Regions from separate parts of the Homo sapiens genome. Here regions 2, 3, 4, 5 and 6 are each linked to region 1. The links are contacts of gene promoters, found by promoter capture Hi-C in human tissues and cell types (Jung and others, 2019). All regions are on one chromosome and are shown on one strand. The core of a region is centred on a gene start or on the middle of the fragment in contact, and the rest is flanking DNA. Distances in the headings are between cores, read along the strand shown.

Region 1 (4,070 bases), core at 630-3,129:
TCACTAATTCCTTTCTTTGCTCTTTTGGTGTTTGCAAAGGGGTTCGCTAAAGCCTGAATTGATATAATTATTGGCTCAGATTGTTAGAGATCTAGGCCAGATGGCTATGGGTTTCTAAAGTCCCCCTTGCTTGTGGTAGTTTTCCTAGTTTGCCTATAGGGTTTGGGGATCAGCAATTTGAAAGGGCTACAAACTTGTAAAACAGTATTATTCATGGGGGCAGAATGTTCATCAGCGTGACCCAGTACTAAATACATTCATTATAGGCATTTCTATTCTGCACAATTTGCCACACAGCACTGATTTCAGGAGGGGGAAAAAAAGACAATGGCTTATAAAATGCTTTTGAATGCCTAAAAAGAAGGAGAATTCACGCTGAGACTCCTCTGCTTTCTTTTTTGGAAAGAGCCTTCTTAGTGACTTTAGCTGAGCTCTGCTGAGAGTAAGCAAAGTGGAAAAATCAGAAAATTACTTTTTTTATATGTTTCTGGGGGGCAAAATAGACAGTGAGAAAAAATAAATGGAAAAAAGTGACAATGACATTCTGTGAAACAGCAAATATGCAAGCGGATGAAGACAGCTGAGGAATAAGGAAAAAGGTATGAAAAAAAGCAGCAAAAATGGAGCCACGATGATAAACTTAAAAGGAATTGCAGAGCAGAAAGAACATCATAAATAATCATATTTTCAAATAAGAATACCGTATCAGTTTCTGTGACCTGGATAGAGCACAAGCCTCCCATGATATTTCCTAGCATTTTGATGCATACAAAATGCAATTTTCAGCTCAGGCATTTGATTTGTCAGTGTAAACAACCTTTGGGGTTTTTAAAATACATATCTGAAGTGTTTTCATAAATAATGCATATATTATAAAAATTTGACTTGTAAACTATTGAGTCCATGTCCCCCCTGTATTCACTGCAAAGACTAGCCATGTATAGATAGTGCCTTTTGGTAGAAATTGGCATGCTAAAGCTTGCAGTGTCTTTTACCCAAGATAAATAGGATTTTTTTGAAGTACAGGACAAAGAAATATTACAAACAATTTTGCCCAAACTCAAGGAAAGAAATCATACAAGGTAGAACTATATTGTTAATTAGTTCCAAATTCTGAGGTGTTCCCTTAAGTCTTGCTAATTAAGAGAAATGAAGAGTGCAAGATAGCCCTTTTTTTATCTTCAAAGAATAAAGATGAAAGAAAACAGAAAATGAAACCTCTTTACTTGCTCCGTTCTTTAAAAACAGAGCCCCAAGAAAATCTGCTTGTGCTCCTGGAAGGAGAAAGGCCCAAGTATTTACAGAGGGAGTGGGGAAGGAGGTGGTCTGAGAAGCATAATTAGAAGCAAGTTTTCAAATTGTATTAAATTCCTCCACCAACAAAACGCACTTAGAGGTATTTTAAGTTAAACTAGCACTTAAGGACTATGAAAAGCAAGATGATTACATGTCTGTGGCAGAAGAAAGGGCAATTAAGAAAACAAGAAGAATTTAACGTGCCATATAAATAAAGGCGACCAGAAGTTGATTTAAAGTTTTTCTTCTGTAATTTGTCTCCCCTTTGTCATGGCACGCTCAGAGAAAGTGAATGCAGTAGATTGAAAGGCGGAGGGGGAGTGGGGAGGAAGAAGGAAGGAACAGGGAAGGACTGGCTCCCATCTCCTCCCCCAGCCCCCACCAGCCCATCTCCCCTTCTCTCCCTCGCGCACCCACCCCCGCCTTCCTCCTTCTCCGTCTCTTTCTCTCTCCCACCCTCCACTCTCGCCCTCCCTCCTTGGGTGACTCCATCAGCTTTTGATTTGGAAGCACGCTGATTGGCTGGAAGCGATTCAACACACGCTGGGCAAGAGCTTTGTCTGAGTTGAAGTGAAGTTGTACAGATTTTAGACTGGAGTCAGCAATCACGGGTGTTTAGTCTGCAGCCGAGCAGCTAAAGGGAGAAAGAATCGCTCAGGAAAGACACACTGCAGACTCCACCGGCACCCTGCAATAGATGGATTCCGACTACACAAGGGAGAAAACGCGGAGGTGACACTCTCCTGCCTGGAAAGAGGACGAACGACCAAACAAACGCAAGGACTGGACTCCATGCCGAAGGTATCTGGAAGTCGTGACACGGTGTGTATAAAACAAAAGTTTGCGAGCTGTTAATTGCTGTGCTGTGTTATTAAGAGACGCTTTCAAGTTTCAAGTACCAAATGTAGCTTTACGTTGCCAAAGGAAGTTGAGGCAATTGCTTTGCTGTTTTAACTTGCTCTGTGAGGGAAATCTCATAAACTGACCAATGCACCAAATGAATGCTAAAATGCACTTTAGGTTTGTTTTTGCACTTCTGATAGTATCTTTCAACCACGATGTACTGGGCAAGAATTTGAAATACAGGATTTATGAGGAACAGAGGGTTGGATCAGTAATTGCAAGACTATCAGAGGATGTGGCTGATGTTTTATTGAAGCTTCCTAATCCTTCTACTGTTCGATTTCGAGCCATGCAGAGGGGAAATTCTCCTCTACTTGTAGTAAACGAGGATAATGGGGAAATCAGCATAGGGGCTACAATTGACCGTGAACAACTGTGCCAGAAAAACTTGAACTGTTCCATAGAGTTTGATGTGATCACTCTACCCACAGAGCATCTGCAGCTTTTCCATATTGAAGTTGAAGTGCTGGATATTAATGACAATTCTCCCCAGTTTTCAAGATCTCTCATACCTATTGAGATATCTGAGAGTGCAGCAGTTGGGACTCGCATTCCCCTGGACAGTGCATTTGATCCAGATGTTGGGGAAAATTCCCTCCACACATACTCGCTCTCTGCCAATGATTTTTTTAATATCGAGGTTCGGACCAGGACTGATGGAGCCAAGTATGCAGAACTCATAGTGGTCAGAGAGTTAGATCGGGAGCTGAAGTCAAGCTACGAGCTTCAGCTCACTGCCTCAGACATGGGAGTACCTCAGAGGTCTGGCTCATCCATACTAAAAATAAGCATTTCAGACTCCAATGACAACAGCCCTGCTTTTGAGCAGCAATCTTATATAATACAACTCTTAGAAAACTCCCCGGTTGGCACTTTGCTCTTAGATCTGAATGCCACGGATCCAGATGAGGGCGCTAATGGGAAAATTGTATATTCCTTCAGCAGTCATGTGTCTCCCAAAATTATGGAGACTTTTAAAATTGATTCTGAAAGAGGACATTTGACTCTTTTCAAGCAAGTGGATTATGAAATCACCAAATCCTATGAGATTGATGTTCAGGCTCAAGATTTGGGTCCAAATTCAATCCCAGCCCATTGCAAAATTATAATTAAGGTTGTGGATGTTAATGACAATAAACCTGAAATTAACATCAACCTCATGTCCCCTGGAAAAGAAGAAATATCTTATATTTTTGAAGGGGATCCTATTGATACATTTGTTGCTTTGGTCAGAGTTCAGGACAAGGATTCTGGGCTGAATGGAGAAATAGTTTGTAAGCTTCATGGACATGGTCACTTTAAACTTCAGAAGACATATGAAAACAATTATTTAATCTTAACTAATGCCACACTGGATAGAGAAAAGAGATCTGAGTATAGTTTGACTGTAATCGCTGAGGACAGGGGGACACCCAGTCTCTCTACAGTGAAACATTTTACAGTTCAAATCAATGATATCAATGACAATCCACCCCACTTCCAGAGAAGCCGATATGAATTTGTAATTTCAGAAAATAACTCACCAGGGGCATATATCACCACTGTTACAGCCACAGATCCTGATCTTGGAGAAAATGGGCAAGTGACATACACCATCTTGGAGAGTTTTATTCTAGGAAGTTCCATAACTACATATGTAACCATTGACCCATCTAATGGAGCCATCTATGCCCTCAGAATCTTTGATCATGAAGAAGTGAGTCAGATCACTTTTGTGGTAGAAGCAAGAGATGGAGGAAGCCCGAAGCAACTGGTAAGCAATACCACAGTTGTGCTCACCATCATTGACGAAAATGACAACGTTCCTGTGGTTATAGGGCCTGCATTGCGTAATAATACGGCAGAAATCACCATTCCCAAAGGGGCTGAAA
Region 2 (4,070 bases), core at 649-3,148, 210 kb after region 1:
AATATATTAAAGCTTTTTTCTTTAATTGTGATACCTGATCAAGCTCCCATACTGTCTTTAAGAGTGGTTACAAAATTATTTCCATATCTTTATGTTTTAGCAGTGAGATAATTGAAATTACACTTCTATACTACCTTGACTTTATTATTACATTAAAAGTCAGGAACGAACTCCCCCATTGTTACAGTTTAACCAATGCTCCTAATTCTCCTGCTTGACCTTTGTGGTGTTGATATTACTGTCTAGCCCATTCCTGTTGACATTTCTCCCTAAAATTCAAATGAGATAATTTATTTTTCTTTTCCTCTCTGATGACTCTTTTTCATTCTTTCACTGATTCACTATCTTCTCACATTATCTTACTATAGGCACAGGCTAATGTCCTGTTTTCAGTTTCACTGATTTTCTGCTCCTGTCTTTAGTTATTTCCTTCCTTCTGTTTGTTTGGGTTCATTTTTATTTTTTTCTATTTCTTCTTCTTCTTCTTCTTCTTCTTCTTCTTCTTTGGTTTCTTGTGGTAGAAATTTAGCTTTGAGATTTTTCTGCTGTTCCGAGCATCTATAAATTTCCCTCTGAGCATTGCTTTAGCTACTTTGTTGCTTTAGCACTGTTCTAGTGCTTTTTCTCTAAGACTGGCTATAGCCACATATTTTGATATTGCTTTCATTTAGTTCTGAGTATTTTCTACTTTCTCTTGAGACTTGTTTTCTGACCCGCAAATTCTTTAGAAATGTGCTGTTTAATTTCCAAACACTTGAAGATTTTCCTGTCCTCTTTCTGTATTTGTCTTATTTAATTCAATTATGCTCAAAGAAAACAATTAGTATCATTTACATTTTTTAAAATTTATTGAAGTGTGTTTTATTACCCTCCCCCCCCACAAAAGAGCCTGCCTTGTTGAACATTACGTGTACATCTAAAAAGTGATATGGTTTGATTGTGTATCCACCCAAATCTCACCTTGAATTGTAATAATCCACATGTGTCAAAGGCAGGGCCAGGTGGAGATAATTGACTCATGGGGGTGGTTTTCCCCATATTGTTCTCGTGGTAGTGAATAAATCTCATGAGACCTGATGGTTTTATAAATGGGAGATCCCCTACACAAGCTCTCTTGCCTGCCACCGTGTAATGGGTGACTTTGCTCCTCATTTGCCTTCTGCCATGGTTGTGAGACCTCCCCAGCCATGTGGAACTGTGAGTCAATTAAGCCTCTTTCCTTTATAAATGACCCAGCCTTGAATAGGTCTTTATTGGCAGTGTGAGAACAGACTAATTGTCTAATACAGTTTACACTAATAATCCAGTAAATTGGTATCAGGTAGTGAGGCACTGCTGTAAAGATACCTGAAAATGTGGAAGCGACTTTGGAACTGGGTAACAGGCAGAGGTTGGAACAGTTTGGAGGGCTCAGAAGAAGACAGGAGGATGTGGGAAAGTTTGGAACTTCCTAGAGACTTGTTAAGTGGCTTTGAACAAAATGCTGATAGCGATATGAATAATAAGGTCCAGGGTGAGGTGGTCTCAGATGGAGATGAAGAACTTGTTGGGAACTGGAGCAAAGGTGACTCTTGCTATGTTTTAGCACAGACTGGTGGCATTTTGCCCCTGCCCTAGAGATCTGTGAAACTTTGAACTTGAGAGAGATGATTTAATGTATCTGGTGAAAGAAATTTCTAAGTGGCAACATGTTCAAGAGGAGGTAGAGCATAGAAGTTTGGGAAATTTTCAGCCTGATGATGCAGTAGAAAAAAAAATTTTCTGGGGAGTAATTCAAGCTGTCTGTGGAAATTTGCATAAGTAATGAGGAGCTGAATGTTAATCACCAAGCCAATCGGGAAAATGTCTCCAGGGCATGTCAGAGACCTTCACAGCAGCCCCTCATATCACAAGCCAGAGGCCTAAGAGGAAAAATTGGTTTTGTGGGCCGAGCCCAGCGCTCCCTGCTGTGTGTAGCCTGGGGACTTAGTGCCCAGGTCCCAGATGCTTCAGTCATAGCTAAAAGGGACGAAGGTACAGCTCAGGCTGTGGCTCCAGAGGATGCAAGCCCCAAACCCTGGCAGCTTCCACATGATGTTGAGCCTGCGGGTAAACAGAAGTCAAGAATTGAGGTTTGTGAACCTCCATAGATGTCAGAGGATGTATGGAAATGCCTGTGTGTCCAGGCAGAAGTTTGCTGCAGGGGTGGGTCCCTGCTAGGGCAGCGTGGAAGAGAAATGTGGGGTTGAAACCCCAACACAGAGTCCCCACTGGGACACTGTCTAGTGGAGCTGTGAGAAGAGGGCTATGATCCTGCAGAGTCCAGAATGGCAGAATCATGGACAGTTTGTACCGTGTGCTTGGAAAAGCCTCATACACTCAATGCCAGCCCATGAAAACAGCCAGGTATGGGGATATACCCTGTAAAGCCACAGGAGCGGAGCTGCCCAAGGCCATGGGAACCCACCTTTGGCAACATCATTACCTGGGTAAAATAACCTGGATGTGAGACATGGAGTCAAAGGAGATCATTTTGGAGCTTTAAGATTTGACTGCCCTGCTGGATTTCAGACTTGCATGTGGCCTGTAACCTCTTCATTTTGGCCAATTTCTCCCATTTGGAAAGGGTGTATTCACCCAATACCTGTACTCCCATTGTATCTAGGAAGTAACTAACTTATTTTTTATTTTACAGGCTCATAGGTGGAAAGGACTTGTCTCAGATGAAACTTTAGACTTGGACTTTTGAGTTAATGCTGGAATGAATTAAGACATTGAGGGACTGTCAGGAAGGCATGATTGGGTTTCAAATGTGAGGACATGGGACTTGGGAGGGGCCAGGGGCAGAATGATATGGTTTGGCTGTGTCCCCATCCAAATCTCAAATTGAATTGTAATAATCCCCACATGTCAAGGGTGGGGTCAGGTGGAGATAATTGAATTACAGGGGTGGTTTCCTCCATACTGTTCTCTTGGTCGTGAATAAGTCTTATGAGATCTGATAATATTATAAATAGGAGTTTCCCTACACAAGCTCTCTTGCCTGCTGCCATGTAATAGATGACTTTGCTCCTCATTCACATTCGGCAATGATTGTGATGCCTCCCCAGCCGTCTGGAACTGTGAGTCAATTAAACCTCTTTCCTTTATAAGTTACCCAGACTTGGGTATATCTTTATTAGCAGCCTGAGAACAGACTAATACAAAAAGTCTGTATATCCTGCTGTTGTTGATCATAGTGTTCTGTAAATGTTCATTAGATTGCACTTATTCATTCTTCTATATCCTTGCTGATTTTCTGACCAGAAGTTCTGTTTATTACTGAGAAAGGAATGTTAAAATCGCCAACTACTATTTTTGATTTGGTTATATTTCCTTTCAGTTGGGTCAATTTTTACTTCGCATATTTTGCAACCAATTTCATACACATTTAGAATGGTTATTTCATCTTGTTGAATTGGCCATTTTAGCATTATGTAAAATTCTTAATGCCTTGTAACATTTTTGGTTTGTTTTGATGTCTAATTTGTCTGATATTAATATAGACATGTTAATGTTTTATTTTAAATCAATATATTTTAGATGAGTTACTTGTAGACAGAATACCACTAGATTTTTGTTTTTATCCAACTTACTATTCCTGTCTTTTAATTGGTGTGTTTAGATTTTTTCCTTCAATGTAATTATAGACATTCTTAGATTAGGTCTACAATTTTATTATTTATTTTCTGTTTATTCCCCCTGTTTTCCCTTTCCTGCCTCTTTTGGATTACTTGAATAATTTGTAGTATTTCATTTTAATTAATCTATTCTGTATATAATTTTTGTTGTTATTCTAGCAATTACAATATACATACTTAATGTTATGCAGTCTACTTTGACTCAGTATTTTAACACTTCAGCTGAAATGTAGAAAACCTAATCCCTCAAAGACCCCTTAACAACCTCTGCCTTTATTGTAACAGTACTAAGAGGTGGGGACTTTAACAGGTGATTAGGTTACAAGGGTTCTACCATCATGAATGAATTAATGCAATTATCATGGTAGTAGGTTAGTTATCATGGGAGTAGCTTTATTATAAATGCAAGTT
Region 3 (4,070 bases), core at 515-3,014, 200 kb before region 1:
AAGGGAAGGATCCATTTCTGGCTGGATTCACCATCTACTGACAAAAGAGCCCCTGGTCGTGGAATAAACATCGGCAGTAGCCAGGTAGTAGTCATCATGGGCCTTGGACAAGACCCAGTACTGTGCTGCCCTCGATTACCCAGCACACTCCCAGCTGTGGTGGCCACAGAATTGCCCTCCCCCAACTCCAGGCAGCCTAACAGGAAGGGAAATTCCTTCTGATTAGCGGGAAGAGAGGGAAGGGAGTGAGAGCCTTTGCTTAGTAATTCCCTTAGTAACCCAGGGAATTCTTTCTTTTAAAAAAAATTACTTTAAGTTCTGGGATATATGTGCTGAACGTGCAAGTTTGTTACATAGGTATACATGTGCGGTGGTGGTTTGCTACACCTATCCACCCGTCATCTAGGTTTTAAACCCGGCATGTGTTAGGTTTTTGTTATAATGCTCTCCCTTCCCTTTTCCCCGACTCCCCGACAGGCCCCGCTGTGTAATTACGTCTGGAATTGGTGGGTTCTTGGTCTCACCGACTTCAAGAATGAAGCCGTGGATCCTCGTGGTGAGTGTTACAGCTCTTAAGGTGACGCACCTGGAGTTTGTTCCTTCTGATGTTCAGATGTGTTTGGAGTTTCTTCCTTCTGGTGGGTTCGTGGTCTCGTTGGCTCAGGAGTGAAGTTGCAGACCTTGGCGGTGAGTGTTAGAGCTCTTAAGGTAGTGCATCTGGAGTTGTTCATTCCTCCCGGTGGGCTTGTGGGCTCTCTAGCTTCAGGAGTGAAGCTGCAGATCTTCGCAGTGAGTGTTACAGCTCATGAAAGCAGTGTGGAGTCAAAGAGTGAGCAGTAGCAAGATTTATTGCAAAGAGCGAAAGAACAAAGCTTCCACAGGGTGGAAGGGGACCCAAGCGGGTTGCCACTGCTGGCTCCGGCAGCCTGCTTTTATTCTCTTATCTGGCCCCACCCATGTCCTGCTGATTGGTAGAGCCGCGTGGTCTGTTTTGACAGGGCGCTGATTGGTGCGTTTACAATCCCTGAGCTAGACACAAAGGTTCTCCACATCCCCACCAGATTAGTTAGATACAGAGTATGGACACAAAGGTTCTCCAAGGCCCCACCAGAGTAGCTAGATACAGAGTGTCGATTGGTGCACTCACAAACCCTGAGCTAGACACAGGGTGCTGATTGGTGGGTTTACAAACCTTGAGCTAGATATAGAGTGCCGATTGGTGTATTTACAATCCCTGAGCTAGACATAAAGGTTCTCCACGTCCCCACCAGACTCAGGAGCCCAGCTGGCTTCACCTAGTGGATCCCGCACTGGGGCCGCAGGTGGAGCTGCCTGCCAGTCCTGTGCCGTGCACCGGCACTTCTCAGCCCTCGGGTGGTCAATGGGACTCGGTGCCGTGGAGCAGGGGGTGGCACTGGTTGGGGAGGCTCCCGCCGCATAGGAGCCCATGGAGGGGGTGGGAGGCTTAGGCATGGCGGGCTGCAGGTCCGGAGCCCTGCCCCACGGGAAGGCAGCTAAGGCCCGGTGAGAAATCGAGCGCAGCGCCGGCGGGCTGGCACTGCTGGGAGACCCAGTACACCCTCCGCAGCCGCTGGCCCGGATGCTAAGCCCCTTATTGCCCAGGGCCTGCAGGGCGGACCAGCTGCTTCGAGTGCGGGGCCGCCAAGCTCACGCCCACCCAGAACTCCAGCTGGCCGGCAAGCGCCGCGCGCAGCCCTGGCTCCCGCTGGCGCCTCTCCCTTCACACCTTCCTGCAAGCTAAGGGAGTGGGCTCCGGCCTTGGCCAGCCCAGAAAGGGGCTCCCACTGTGCATCGGCGGGCTGAAGGGCTCCTCAAGTGCCGCCAAAGTGGGAGCCCAGGCAGAGGAGGCGCCGAGAGCGAGCGAGGGCTGTGAGGACTGCCAGCAGCTCTCATAATGTTCACCTCCCTGTGTCCATGTGTTCTCATTGTTCAACTCCCACTTATGAGTGAGAACATGCGATGTTTGGTTTTCTGTTCCTGTGTTAGTTTGCTGAGGATGATGGTTTCCAAAAAATACGGAAGGCTTCACGAATTTTCTTTCTTATCTTACTCAAGCCTGCCGCTCCCTCTAGGAGTCCCTTAAGGGTGCAGCATTCCTGAGCTTAGGGAGCCCCCTAGTGCTGATATGGATGCAATGACCACGGGCTTAGATCACAGCACTCAACCCCTTCTAAACACATGGAAAGCCTTTTCAAGGACCAGTACAAACAAGCCCAGACTCTCAAGATCAAAATAAATACCTATCTCTTCAATGCCTAGACCTTGACAAATGTCCACAAGCATTAAGAATATGAAAGGAGGCCGGGCGCGGTGGCTCACGCCTGTAATCCCAGCACTTTGGGAGGCCGAGACGGGCGGATCACGAGGTCAGGAGATGGAGACCATCCTGGCTAACACGGTGAAACCCCATCTCTACTAAAAATACAAAAAAAATTAGCCGGGCGTGGTGGCGGGCACCTGTAGTCCCAGCTACTCGCGAGGCTGAGGCAGGAGAATGGCGTGAACCCAGGAGGCGGAGCTTGCAGTGAGCCGAGATCACGCCACTGCACTCCAGCCTGGGCGACAGAGTGAGATTCCGTTTCAAAAAACAAAACAAAAAAGAATTTGAAAGGAAACATGACATCTCCAAATAAAAGCACCAGTGACCAATCTTAGAGTGTTAGAGATATGTGACCTTTCAGACAGAGAATTCAAAATAGCTGTCTATAGGAAGGTCAGTGAACTTGAAAATAACACAGAGAATTTAGAATTCTATCAGAGAAACACAACAAAAAGACTGGAATAATAATTTTTAAAAATCAAGCAGAAATTCTGGAACTAAAAATTCAATTGACAAACTGAAAAATACATCAGTCTCCTAAAAGCAGAATTGACTAAGCATAAAGAAATAGCAAACTTGAAGACAGGCTATATGAAAATACACAGACAGAAAAGAAAAAAAAATAAAGACACACAACTACAAGATCTAGAAAAAAAGCCTCAAAGGGGAAAATCTAAGAGTGATTGGCTTTATAGAAATTGGAGAGAGTGAGAGAGAGATCAAAGTAGAAAATTTATTCAAAGAAATAATAACAGAGAACTTTCCAAGCCTAGAGAGAGAGATGAATATTTGTGTCCTGTAAGTTTATAGAACATCAAGCAGGTTCAACCGAGATAAAACCACCTCAAGCCATAAAATAATAAAACCGTCAAAGGTCAAGGATAAAGAATGGACACTAAAAGCTTTAAAAGAAAATAAGGAAATGCCATATAGAAGAGCTCCCATATGTCTGGTAGTAGTCTTATCAGTGGAAACTTTACAGGTGAAGAGAGAGTGGGATGACATATTAAGAGTGCAGGGGAAATAAAATCCAACCTAGAACATTATGTCCAGCAAAATGATCCTTAAAACATGAAGGAGAAATAGGCTTTCCCAGACAAATAAAAGCTGAGGGATTTCAACACCAGACCTGTCTTATAAAAAATGCTAAAGGGAGTTCTTCAATCAGAAAGAAAATGATGCTAATTAACAAAAAGAAATCATCTGAATATAGAAATCTCCCTGGTAGTAGTAAGTATACAAAAAAGACAGACTATCCTAACACTGTAATTGTGGTGTGTAAACAAACCACTTATATCTTTAGTAAAAAAAGTAAATAAATAAAAGGCAAACCTATCAAAAATAATAATTACAACTTTTTAAGATATAGAGAGTATGAAAAGATACATATAGAAACGATCAAACGTCAAAAAGAAGGGTGAATGGAATTAAAGAGTAGACTTTTTTTAGTGTTCTCTTTGCTTCTTTGCTTGTTTTCCTTTCTTTATAATCAGAGTTAAGTTATCATCTGTTTGAAGTAATTTGTTATAATATATTTTTTGCAAGCCTCATGGCAACCACAAAACAAAAACCTGTAACAGATACACAATACACAGAAAGGAAGAAATTAAAACATACTCTCACAGAAAATCACTTCTATAAAAAGGAAGACAGGAAGGAAGGAAAGAAAGGAGGCAAGAAGGAAGGAAAGAAGAAATAAAGGAAGCAAGAAAAAGGACGGAAGACAACG
Region 4 (4,070 bases), core at 824-3,323, 180 kb after region 1:
GTTGATCTTTAATCTCATATATCCTTTCTTCCGTTTGAATGATTCGGCTATTGATACTTGTGTATGCTTCACAAAGTTCTTTTGCTGTGTTTTTCAGCTCCGTCAGGTCATTTATGTTTCTCTCTAAATTGGTTATTCTAGTTAGCAGTTCCTGTAACCTTTTATCAGGTTCTTAGCTTCCTTGCATTGGGTTAGAACATGCTCTTTGGCTTGTAGTAGTTTGTTATTACCCACCTTCTTCTGTCAATTCATCAAACTCATTCTCTGTCCAGTTTTGTGCCCTTGCTGGCAAAGAGTTGTGATCCTTTGGAGGAGAAGAGGTATTCTAGGTTTTGGATTTTTCAGCATTTCTGCACTGGTTTTGCCTCATCTTCATGGATTTATCTACTTTTGATCTTTGACGCTGATGACCTTTGGATGGGGTTTTTGCGTGGGCATCCTTTTTGTTGACGTTGATGTTATTGCTTTCTGTTTGTTAGTTTTCCTTCTAACAGTTAGGCCTCTTTTCTGAAAGTCTGCAGGAGTTTGCCGGAGGTCCACTCCAGACTCTTTTTGCCTGGGCATTACCAGCAGAGGCTGCAGAACAGCAAGTATTGCTGCCTGCTCCTTCCTCTGGAAGCTTCATCCCAGAGGGGCACCACCCTGATGCTAGCTAGAGCTCTCCTGTATGAGATGTCTGTCGACCTCTGTTGGGAGGTATCTCCCAGTCAGGAGGCACTGGGATCATGGAGCCACTTGAGGTGGCAGTCTGTCCCTTGGCAGAGCTTGAGCTCTGTGCTGGGAGATCTGCTACTCTCTTCAGAGCCAGCAGGCAGGAACGTTTAAGTCTGCTGAAGCTGCACCAACAGCCATTCTTTCCCCCAGGTGCTCTGTCCCAGGGAGATGAGAGTTTTATCTATAAGCCCCTGGCTGGTGCTGCTGCCTTTCTTTTAGAGATACCCTGCCCAGAGAGGAGGAATCTAGAGAGGCAGCCTGACTACAGCGGCTTTGCCATGCTGCAGTGGGCTCCACCCAGTCCAAACTTCCCAGGGGCTTTGTTTACACTGTGAGGGGAAAACTGCCTACTCAAGCCTCAGTAATGTTGGACACCCCTCCCTGCGCCAAGCTCCAGTGTCCCACGTCAACTTCAGACTGCTGTGCTGGCAGCAAGAATTTCAAGCCAGTGGATCTTAGCTTGCTGGGCTCTGTGGGTGTAGGACTCACTGAACAAGACCCCGTGGCTCCCTGGCTTCAGCCCCCTTTCCAGGGGAATGAATGGTTCTGTCTTGCTGGGGTTCCAGGCACCACTAGGGTATGAAAAAAAAAAAAAAAAAAAAACAAACTCCTGCAGTCAGCTCTGTGTCTGCCCAAACAGCCGTCCAGTCTTGTGCTTGAAACCCAGGGCTGTGGTGGTACAGCACACAAGGAAATCTTCTGGTCTACAGGTTGCAAAAACTGTGGGAAAAGTATAGTATCTGAGTCAGATAGCACAGTCCCTCATGGCTTCCCTTGGCTAAGGGAGGGAGGTCCCTGGCCCCTTGCACTTCCTGGGTGAGGCAACACCCCACCCTGCTTCTGCTTGCCCTCCGTGGGCTGCACACACTGTCTAACCAGTCCCAGTGACATAAACTGGGTATCTCAGTTGGAAATGCAGAAATCACCCACCTTCTGCATTGGTCTCACTTGGAGCTGCAGACCAGAAGTGTTCCTATTTGGCCATCTTGCCAGATCTGCGAATTTTATTTTATTTTTTGTATTTATAGCCGAATACTATTCCATTGTGCACATACACTGCATTTTCTTTATCCATTCATTTGTTGACATCCACTCTGGTAGATTCCATTTACTAATTATTGTGAATAGTGCTCGAAAGAACATGTGACTACAGACATATCTTTGAGAAACTGATTTCAAATCATTTGGGTAAAAACCAGAAGTGGTATTGCTGGATCATATGGTAATTCTATTTTTAGTTTTTTGAGGAACCTCCATAGTGTTTTCCATAATGGTTGTACTAATTGACATTCCAATAAATAGTGTAAAAGTGTTCCTTTTTCTCTACATCCGTGACTACACTTGTTATCTTTAGTCTTTTTTTTTTTTTCTAAATGGAGTTTCGCTCTTGTTGCCCAAGCTGGAGTGCAATGGCACTATCTTAGCTCACTGCAACTTCTGCCTGCTAGTTCAAGCGATTCTCCTGCCTCAACCTTCTGAGTAGCTGAGATTACAGGTGCACACCTCCACTTCTGGCTAATTTTTTGTATTTTTAGTAGAAATGGGGTTTCACCATGTTAGCCAGGCTGGTCTCGAACTCCTGACCTCAGGTGTTCCCCCCACCGCTTCCAGCGTCCTAGCATGCTGGGATTACAGACGAGAGCCACCATGCCTGCCCAGCCTCTTTAGTCTTTTTTATATAGCCATGCTAACAGATTGTGAGGTGATTCTCATTGTGATTTTAATTTTCATTTTTCTAATGATTTGTGATGTTGAGCATTTTTCATATACCCATAGGTCATTCATATGTCTCCTTTTGAGAAATATCTATCCAGATTGTTAGAAAAAATCAGATTATTATTATATTATCTGCTCTTGAGTTGAGTTCCTTTTATATTCTGGTTATTAATCTGTGTCAGATGGACAATTTGAAAATATTTTGCCCCATTTTATAGGTTATCCTTTCACTCTGCACATTCTTTCCTTTTCTGTGCAGAAGTTGTTTTTTAGCTTAATGTAATCTCATCTGTCTAGTTTTGATTTTGTTGCCTGTGCTTTTGAGGTCATAATCCCTAATTTTTTTCCCAGGCCAATGTCCTAAAGCATTTCCCCAATGCTATCTTCCAGAAGTTTTATAGCTTCAGGTCTTACATTTAGGTCTTTAATCTGTTTTGATTTGGTTTTTGTATCTATTGAGAGATAGGAGTCTAGTTTTATTATGTTGCATATGGATATCCAGTTTCCCCAGCATACTTTATTGGAAAGACTGTCCTTTCTCCAGTGTATGTTCTTGGGAACTTTGTTGAAAATGAGTTGACTGTAAATGCAGAGATTTATTTCTGGATTCTTTTTTTCTGTTCCATATGTCTATGTGTCTATTTTTAAGGGAATACCTTGCTGACTTGGTTACTATAGCTTGGTAGTATATTTTGAAGTCAGATAGTATGATGATGTCAGCTTTGTTATTTTGTTCAGAATTGCTTTATTTGTTTTTTTTTTTTTTTTGGTAGGGATATACAAATTTTAGGATTTTTTTTTTCTATTTCGGTGAAAAACGTCATTGGTATTTTGATAGAGATTACATTAAATCTGTGGATTTTTTTGAGTAGTATGGTTATTTTAACATGATCATTTTTTCCAATCCATGGGCATGGGAATACCTTTCCAATTTTGTGTCCTCTTCAATCTCTTGTATTGACGTTTTATTGTTTTCATTGTAGAGATTCCTGCCTCAGTTTCATTTGTGATAAGAAGGTATAAGGAAGTAAAGGAATGCTTCAACAGCTAAGCTTTGAATCCTTAAACTAGTCAAAATAATTCTCTTGTTGAGATTCTGGAGTTTTAAAAATCTGCCTCCATTTCTTAGTGATATAAACCTTCAGATTTATTTATTTTTGTATAATTTCATCTCTGTATGATTAGAAACTTTTTTATTGGAACCATTATGATTGTAATAAGCTCCAAGTGAAAATCTTTAATTATCTTACAAGGAAATTTTTTTTTTAAGTTTTATCAAAATATCTGACTGTGACTCTCACTTTTGAATTTATATTTTGATTATCTGGTAACCGTACTGAAAACATGCCTTATGCCGTTATTGCTATAACATTCTCAGAAAATTCTTTTCTATATCTAAATTCCTTGTTTCAAGACTTGTATTGTTTCAAGATTATTGCTGTAACATTCTCAGAAAATTATTTTCTATATCTAAATTCCTTGTTTCAAGACTTGGATTGGCCAGGCATGGTGGCTCACACCTGTAATCCCAGCACTTTGGGAGGCCAAGGCGGGTGGATCAGGAGGTCAGGTGATTGGGACCAACCTGCCTAACGCGGTGTAACCCTGTCTCTACTAAAAATACAAAAATATTAGCCACG
Region 5 (4,070 bases), core at 432-2,931, 160 kb after region 1:
TTCTTCTGAGACTAGTAGTGAATAAAAGAGGACATTGTGTGGACAGTCAGCAATTCTTTTCCTGCTTAGTACCCCGTAAACTGTGTAATTATCTGAGGTGTTGCTATAAATCCAGTATTTACAACATGCATTCCTTAGACGGTGAAGTAATTGCACGTGTCATAGGTGAAAAAATGTTTCATTTTTTTTCTCTGAGACACTTTAAAAAAATTATTGAATGTATGCTTTGGAAGAAATGTGAGTGTAAATATTATGCAATCCAATGTATGACATTCTGGCAATACTACTTTAAACAATACATCTAACAATAGTAGCAACAGTTTGTCTTATTTCTACTGAACATAATATGACTAATGACATTACTGCTATGTTTTGGGGTTTCTTATGCTTTCAGGATAGATTATTTTAGATATTCTCACACGACCTTGCTATTCCTGGTCTCTCATGAAAAATTAAAACATTTTTATGTTTTATGTTTTATGACTTAAAACCATTCTTACCTCTTTCATTTCGTCTTGGTGCACAAGTTCAGGGTTACATAAAATTTGTTTCATTAGGAAATTGTAGAGCAGATTGAGGTTACCAATAAAATGTCTTAGAAAGTTATTGCCAAGGAACTGAATTCATTTTGTTGGTTGCTCTCTGTTTTTATAGTCTTTGCTTTTGTTCCTCGACACAAACATACACACACACACACGCACAAACACACACTTACTTATAATTCCTGAGCAATTTATAAACCAAGCCACCTTTAAGCCTCAGAAGCAAATCAGATCCATGAGGCTGTGTGCCAAGGCAACTGTGCGTCAGAATGTAACACAACATGGAGCTTCATAGTTGACCGTGGTCAAAGAACTTTAACTCCCAAAGCTCTCAGCCTTTGTTTTGCCTCAGTGTTTATCCATGTATTCATTTACAAAACTTTTTATTAAGAGCCAATGTGAACAAGAAGGAAATTCTTTCTTTCTTTTATTATTATTTTTTTTTGAGACAGTGTCTTGCTCTATCACCCAGGCTGGAGTGCGGTGGCTCGATCTCTGCTCACTGCAACTTTCACCTCCTGGGTTGAAACAATTCCCCTGCCTCAGCCTCCTGAGTAACTGGGATTACAGGCATGCACCACCATGCCCGGCTAATTTTTTGTATTTTTAGTAGAGAAGCAGTTTCACCATATTGGTCAGGCTGGTCTTGAACTCCTGGCCTCAAGTGATCTGCCAGCCTCGGCCTGCCAAAGTGCTGGGATTATAGGTGTGAGCCACTGAGCCCGGCCTACAATGGAAATAATTTCTGCCCTTGTGAGATTTACAGTCTAGTAGGGGAGACATTAAACATGAAAACCAAAACATATATATCCATAACAAAATATATGCATGTTATGAGTTTGACTGTAATGGCTTAATCAACTAGGGATTTGTTTTCTCATATTAAAAAAGTTTTGTTGTGACAGATTCTAATTTCCAAAGATGGATATACCAATATATTCTATCTTAAATGTTCTTTCCATAATTGAGAGGTAGAGCTTATGCTGTTTCCTCTTGAATAAGGTGGGGTTCAACTATTACAAAAGTAACACTATGTAACTTCCATGTCTAAATTATAAAGGAAAGAAAGCTTTTGTCTGATCCTTTTAGGAGGCTTGATCTTAGAAAACAGCTGTCCTTCGGTACAGAATCCAAGCAGCCACATGGATTGGCCATGTGTAGGATTTCCAGCCCCAACCCCAGAACAAGCTGAAGACTCAGCCAATAGTTACCATCAACCTCTATTATTTTCCCGAATGAGTTTTCAAGTGATTCTAACACTGTTTTCAAATTTCCCTGACTGACACTGAGTGAAGCAGAAATGAACTCTCTCTGATGAACCCTGGCCAAACTGCAGATTTGTGAGTAAAATTAATGTTGTCATTCAAGTCACTAAGTTTTGGGTTTGTTTGAGCAGACTTTGATATCTGTAAGTGGGATTCTGGCAAATATATATATTTAACATATATAAAAAACATTTAATTTTATGTGTTTTATATAAAACATTTAATTTTATGTATTTGTGTGTATGGCTTTGCAAACAAGTGGCAAGCGGACAAAAGGAAGCTTGACAAATCTTGAAAGAAGAGGTAATAAAAGCCAAAAAGTAAGAGATTATTAATGAAGCCCGATGGCTCTCAAAAAAACTATCAATGAGAGATTTGAGAAAAGTAGATACTGGTGGCCGGAGGAAAGGGTACACTTGTTATGTGGTATTAGAAAGTTTAGAAACTTTGTCACTTGTAGTAACATGAAAAATAGGATATCTGTTTAATGATCTAGACCACCACTTATCTCAGATGTTTCCCAGGGAAGTTTTGAAGATGCTGCTTGCTTCTTCCTGTCTATAGTAAAATAAGAAAGGAACAAGTTATGCTAAACAGATTGTTAGGTACACATGAACTAGTATTTACTGAATTAAAAAAAATACTTTCTCATTTCCTGCTTATTTAGATATAGAAAAAGAGATGCTAAAATTAAGAAATGACTTCTGAGCAAATATCAAATCCAGGGTGATGTCCATGGTATAGAGAACCAGAACAACAGTAACAATCCAGAGTGTTTCCTCTTTCTGCTTTGCCGTCTTAAGCATGTGGATTTTCTGCTCATATTCACATAATGGCTGTTCCATCTGCACATATTGCATCTTATTCCACATAGGAGGGAGGATGCAGCCAAAGGGCTAAGGTTGCATAAGTTACCAGGATCTCTCTGTTTCAATTTCAAAATTACTAAATAGTGGTTAATAATGGTAACTATCTCATGAGTCATTTGTAAGAATTACATTTGTTTATAAGTATAAAGCATTTTGAATCATGCTAGAAATATGAGTGCCACAATAGTATCTGCTTAAACGGAGAGGAAACAAGCATAAGCATGTTCTTCTGATTGGTAAAGCAATACCTTTTGCAAAAGTCCTGATTTGCAGCATTATTTTTACCTCACTTTGGCCAAAATTGAGTCACATGGTTTTAATGGGGTACAATTCCACATTCAGGAGTATCAAAGCCTTAACAGCAAGGAAAAAGAAAAAAATGGACACTGGATGGGCAGCCATGGTTATGTCCTGAAAAACGTATTGAAAGCCCATGTGACCATATACTAGGAATTCTGAACCTAGCCTGAGGACCTACAATACATAATGTAAGCTAGAAATATTTAGCAAGAATTTATAATACATATTTGTGACATAATTTTTGATATTGATAGAGTACTTAGGAGTAATATTAGGGGATAACCATAATAAACTTTGAAGACTAAAGTAACAATGCATTTGCTCATTTAAGCCATTACGTGTGTATATAAACATTTTTTTCTTATACATACATTCACATATTTACAATTTCCAATGTTTGCATTCCTTCCTTTTTATCTGAGTTACACTCTGGTGTCATTTTTGTATCTTGTAGATATTCTTAAACATTTTTTTGTTGTACGATATCAACACTTCCTTTCAGATTTGGACTACCTAAAAATACATATTTTCATTTTGAAGGATAGTTTCAGTGATATGGCATTTTTAATTGACTTTTAAAACATATCGTAATATATTACTTGAATTATCTTTTAAGTATTCATTGCTTCTGCTGAGAAGTTAGCTATTAATTGCATTGCTAATATAATTATATAAAATGTTAGTTTTCTCTTGCTGTTTTCAAGATTTCCTTTTCTCATTTGGCTTTATGCAGTCTGACTATGCTGTGACATATATATATTTTATATATATATCACCTTATATATATATGTATATATTGCAAAGAGAATATAGAGAGCTCACATATACTCTCCTCTCCCCAGTTTCCCTTAAGATATTAAATTACTATGGTACATTTATTACAATATTTTAATATTGATACATTATTATTAACTAAAGTCAATGCAGTTGGTCCTTGGTAGCCATGTGTTCCACACATACAACCTACCAACCACAGATGAAAAATATTTGAAAAAAAGAAGAAATAACAATGTAATAATAATTCAAATTTAAAAATCAATGCAGTATAAAAATTATTTATATAGCACTTAGACTATATTAGACATAAGCAATCT
Region 6 (4,070 bases), core at 904-3,403, 150 kb before region 1:
ATAGGCTGTCTCTTAAATTCATCATATTGAACTAGAGATAACAAATATACATGCTGAATTGACCTTTTTAATTGCAATCTGAAGTTGAAAATTACACCTTTTGATCTTCTTGGTTTGAAGTTCAAAGTAGGTGTTTAATACTACAGAGGGCTCAGTTAATTTGAATTCTTAACTTTCTGTACGAACCATTATGCTTAAGGTCCATTTATATTATCTGTCGTAATGAGTGAAATGTAGCTAGCACCAATAAGGTGGCATTCATTAACACTGAAACTTATTACCTAACATGTATCACAATTGTATATATCTTATTTTCTTAAGTGGGAATATAGCAATTTGTACAGTGTAGGAATATGCATCAACTCTTTAAGTTAGTGACAAAATGATAATAAAATGCATCTTCTGATCAACTAAATGACATTATGGATAGGTAAGGAGAAATTATGTGCTGTTTTGAAAGTAGAATGTTTACCATATTTAAGAAATGAACCATGTGAGTAAGAATGAAGAGTATGTTTATAAAGGTTAGAAGTTCCCTAATCTCCCTCTCTTATAAATTTTTACAATTTTAAACAAATGTGTTTCTCTGAAAAAAAAATTTAAGTAGCTATTCAGGAGCATACATTTGTAGCTGCAATTATATATTATAAAAATAATGGTAAAATGGATCCTGCTTAAAATATCCCTAGTGTTAATTATGATTTATTAGTTTGCATAGTCTGGAAAAGGAGAAATATAATGATCAAACCTCCTTTCCAAACACATTTTATTATAGTTACTATTAATTTGGAGGCCGGGAAGTGAAAATAAATTGCTGGAAGGCAAATGAATTCCCATTTGTGTGGTATGGGCTTTTTCCATTTGCACAGTTTCATCATCATAACAAAACATATTAATATGCATACTGTTTGTATGACATTTTGTTAAACTGGATGAATGAATATTTATCAAAATCCAACTATCTAAACTTTATTAGGGCCAGGCATGGTGGCTCATGCCTGTAATCACAGCACTGTGGGAGGCTAGGGCGGGCGGATCGCTTGAGGTTAGGAGTTCGAGACCAGCCTGGCGAAAACCCTGTCCCTCCTAAAAATACAAAAATTAGCTGGGTGTGGTGGCTCATGCCTGTAATCCCAGCTACTCTGGGAGGATGAGGCAGGAGAATCACTTGAGCCCGGGATGTGGAGGCTGCAGTGAGCCCAAATTGCACTACCACACTCCAGCCTGGGCGACAGAGCAAAACTCTGTCTCAAAAAAATAAATAAAATTTAAAAAAAAAACTTTATTAGAACATTTCACTGACTTTTCACTATTGACAGAATCAAACATTAGTTATCCAAATGGTACTAACCTGTCCTAGGAATAGAGTTTAAAAGTGTTTGAACCACCTAATGATACCACATTCTGGCGTTGTGATAAAACATGCTTCTCTAATTTCTTCAATATCTAAAGTACTAACCCATTTGAAAGGATCAGACATAATACCATGCACAAGACTAGAAACGTTTTCTGCATATTTTCTGATATGTTGAATTTTTATTTAGTTTTTATAACTAAAGGGCTATTTTACTTAATACAAATTTCACCTGTAGGTTGTTAACAATCACTTAACCTCTTTAAACTTTTAGCTGTTCTAAAACTAAAGAATAACTAAGATTGCTCCAGCTATGTTATTCTATGATCTGTAAAACTCAGTACAACTCTGAAAGTTGAAAAGGCCCTTCAATCATCAGCTGAATCTTTCAGCATGCAACAGAAGTATGAACATTAATGATCTATTTAAGATTCACTGTCAGAAATATTTTAGGCTGACAGAAAACCATCTAATATTTTATGTCGGTATATTTTAGTAATAGATGATGACACAACTTCAACTAATGTGTCAAGCACAATATTTAATATTCTTCTGGGAAGATTATTTCAAATTATAAATCAAAATCAAAATAAACAACAGTGCTTCACTTGAAAATCATAAATATCTGTCAAATGCCAATGAATGGTTTATTATGCAGAAGTCAAATATTGATAGATGGAGTGACTTGTACAGTTGTTATAGCTATTTTCAAAGCTGTCCATTCTTAGAAGACCCTCAATGTGATCAATAAGCATATTAATAGGGCAACCAAGAACTGTAGGAAACCTTTTTTTATTTTTTCACCTCTACTACTCTCCTCCACATTTTTTGTTATAAAGTGTTCTGTTTCCTATTTGTAATATATTTCAAACAGAGACTTAAACTTCTCATAGCCTAAAGGAAAAACAAAAACTTTTGGAATAGCTGTAGTTGTAAGTCAAGGGTACCAGGGGGAAAACAGTTGCTTGCATCTTATCTCTTCCTCTAAACATTCAGGCAAGACCCATTCATGTCGATGAGGACAGAACAGCTCGAGCCTCTTGGCAACTCTATGCTATCATTGCATCTCATTGCAAAGCAGACAATATTTATGCTTACATTCTGAAAAAATAAAAGAAAAGACTACCTTTGATAAAAGATATCTGCATTAGAATTACTGAATTATCCAATCTGTGTACTGCTGATCTTCATCACTTCATTCTGATTTACTTTTACCCTATGATTGAACAAATCAAACAGTTATTGGTGTAATCCTCTCCCACTTTTTTAATCTAGTAAAGGAGAAATGGATGCCCTGCACCTCTTAACTCACAAATATACAAATTACATGGCATTAAATTACATTGATTTTGAAATAATGTTAATAATGCGACATGATTCATATAATTTAAGAGGCTAAGGGATCACATTGTTGGCAACACATGAAAAAATTAATGTTATTATTGGGGTCAAATAGAACCTCCACTTGAAAGTACCTTTTTCCAGTTGATCTTGAATTCTCTATATTCTCTCTATGTACAAAAATGAAAATGATTAATTTGCACATATGCTTTAGGCAACAGTAGGGTATATCTCATTATATAATTTTCATAGCATTGATGGATGAGAAACATAGAGGTAAAATGCCAGTAGTAGTATAAGAGAAGTAGCTTTATTATAGAATAAAATTTCATATGAATCTTGTGAATGAAGAATTCAGTGTGTATGTCTATATATGTGCATGTGTCTCTGAAAATGATTTATGAGTGAACCTTAAAAAATAACATGAAATAGACATATAGCATCCATATAAAACATTCCACCCCACCTCTCCCAGGCTGGAGAGCAAATGCATGTTGTATCTACCTGCCTATGTTAAAATTTTAGTTTCACTGGAGTCATCATAAACAGTTTTGAGTGTACACTAGTATAGTGGACCATCGTTATTCAGGTTAATAAATTCTTCACTCACAATTGGTTGGGTAGGGATGGTGGTAGAAACTTAGCTAGCCAAGCTTCATCCTAAGAGTCTCAGAGTTACCATTGACAGTGGATGATCCTTCTTAGAAAGCAAAAAGAGAGAAAGGTTGGTGCTTGAGTAAACTTCCACAGGTATTATTTTTCTAGTTTTTCTATGAGGCTATGTATTTGGATCTATTTTGTGCTGTGTTGTATGTATGCCCTTTTTCCTCTGTACATGAGGAAAAACACAATTATCTGCAGGCTGTTTGTTGAAGGAAAGGGGCTTTTGTTGTACACCTGGAAAAAATTACATGTATGAGGAGGAAATGTGGAGAGTTAAGAGTGGATAGGGACAGCATCAGAATAGACTTCCAGACTAATATTTAGTATGAATAACCCTCAGTATGGGAAAGTGTTCGATATTATTAAGCTCCAGTACTTCTTGCAATGTTGATCTCTGTTATGTATTTGGCCAGCAGAATCAATGGCTATGTTTAAACATTTCCCTAGTGCAAAAAACCTTCTCATTCTAGGAAATTTCTGTCTTCAGGCCAGCTCCAATAGAAAGCCACACCAGGGGAGCTTTTAAGGGGATTTTCCTCTAGAACAACAACAACAAAAAATCCATTAACAAGAATTAACTTGCTTCTGAGCCAATCCCAGGATAGACTGTTTCATTTTAATACATGAAAATGTGCTTAAATATAACCTGGGATTTTGAGGGTTGGGTGTTTAGTCTTAACCACTGCCCTGCTGGCCAAGCACTGTGTTGGTA

What was found. Contacts are between HindIII fragments. The study calls those that stand out against the background at their distance.
Region 2: a fragment that was not itself captured here is called in contact with the fragment with the promoter of PCDH18 in region 1 in 1 of the 25 tissues and cell types used here (mesenchymal stem cells).
Region 3: a contact is called between a fragment that was not itself captured here and the fragment with the promoter of PCDH18 in region 1, in 2 of the 25 tissues and cell types used here (H1 embryonic stem cells and heart left ventricle).
Region 4: a fragment that was not itself captured here is called in contact with the fragment with the promoter of PCDH18 in region 1 in 1 of the 25 tissues and cell types used here (IMR-90 fibroblasts).
Region 5: a fragment that was not itself captured here is called in contact with the fragment with the promoter of PCDH18 in region 1 in 1 of the 25 tissues and cell types used here (H1 embryonic stem cells).
Region 6: a fragment that was not itself captured here is called in contact with the fragment with the promoter of PCDH18 in region 1 in 1 of the 25 tissues and cell types used here (spleen).

Annotation. Positions count from the first base shown.
Region 1 is chr4:137,530,303-137,534,372 of GRCh38, reverse strand. It overlaps PCDH18 (protocadherin 18), which reads left to right and starts at 1,879. Exons shown (of 4, transcript NM_019035.5): 1 at 1,879-4,070. The coding sequence starts at 2,285. RefSeq lists an enhancer at 1,851-1,970. The HindIII fragment of the contact is 2,929 bases long and covers 39-2,967 here.
Region 2 is chr4:137,319,146-137,323,215 of GRCh38, reverse strand. No RefSeq gene overlaps it. Among named protein-coding and RNA genes, the nearest start is that of LINC02511, 110 kb to the right of the region's middle. The HindIII fragment of the contact is 5,837 bases long and covers 1-4,070 here.
Region 3 is chr4:137,731,406-137,735,475 of GRCh38, reverse strand. It overlaps LOC105377444 (a long non-coding RNA gene), which reads left to right and starts at 519. Exons shown (of 2, transcript XR_939236.1): 1 at 519-556. The HindIII fragment of the contact is 4,539 bases long and covers 1-4,033 here.
Region 4 is chr4:137,348,218-137,352,287 of GRCh38, reverse strand. No RefSeq gene overlaps it. Among named protein-coding and RNA genes, the nearest start is that of LINC02511, 140 kb to the right of the region's middle. RefSeq lists an enhancer at 868-1,369. The HindIII fragment of the contact is 5,891 bases long and covers 1-4,070 here.
Region 5 is chr4:137,366,513-137,370,582 of GRCh38, reverse strand. No RefSeq gene overlaps it. Among named protein-coding and RNA genes, the nearest start is that of LINC02511, 160 kb to the right of the region's middle. The HindIII fragment of the contact is 4,770 bases long and covers 1-4,066 here.
Region 6 is chr4:137,681,034-137,685,103 of GRCh38, reverse strand. All of the region lies in intron 2 of LOC101927414 (a long non-coding RNA gene), which reads left to right. Among named protein-coding and RNA genes, the nearest start is that of LINC02172, 140 kb to the right of the region's middle. The HindIII fragment of the contact is 5,413 bases long and covers 1-4,070 here.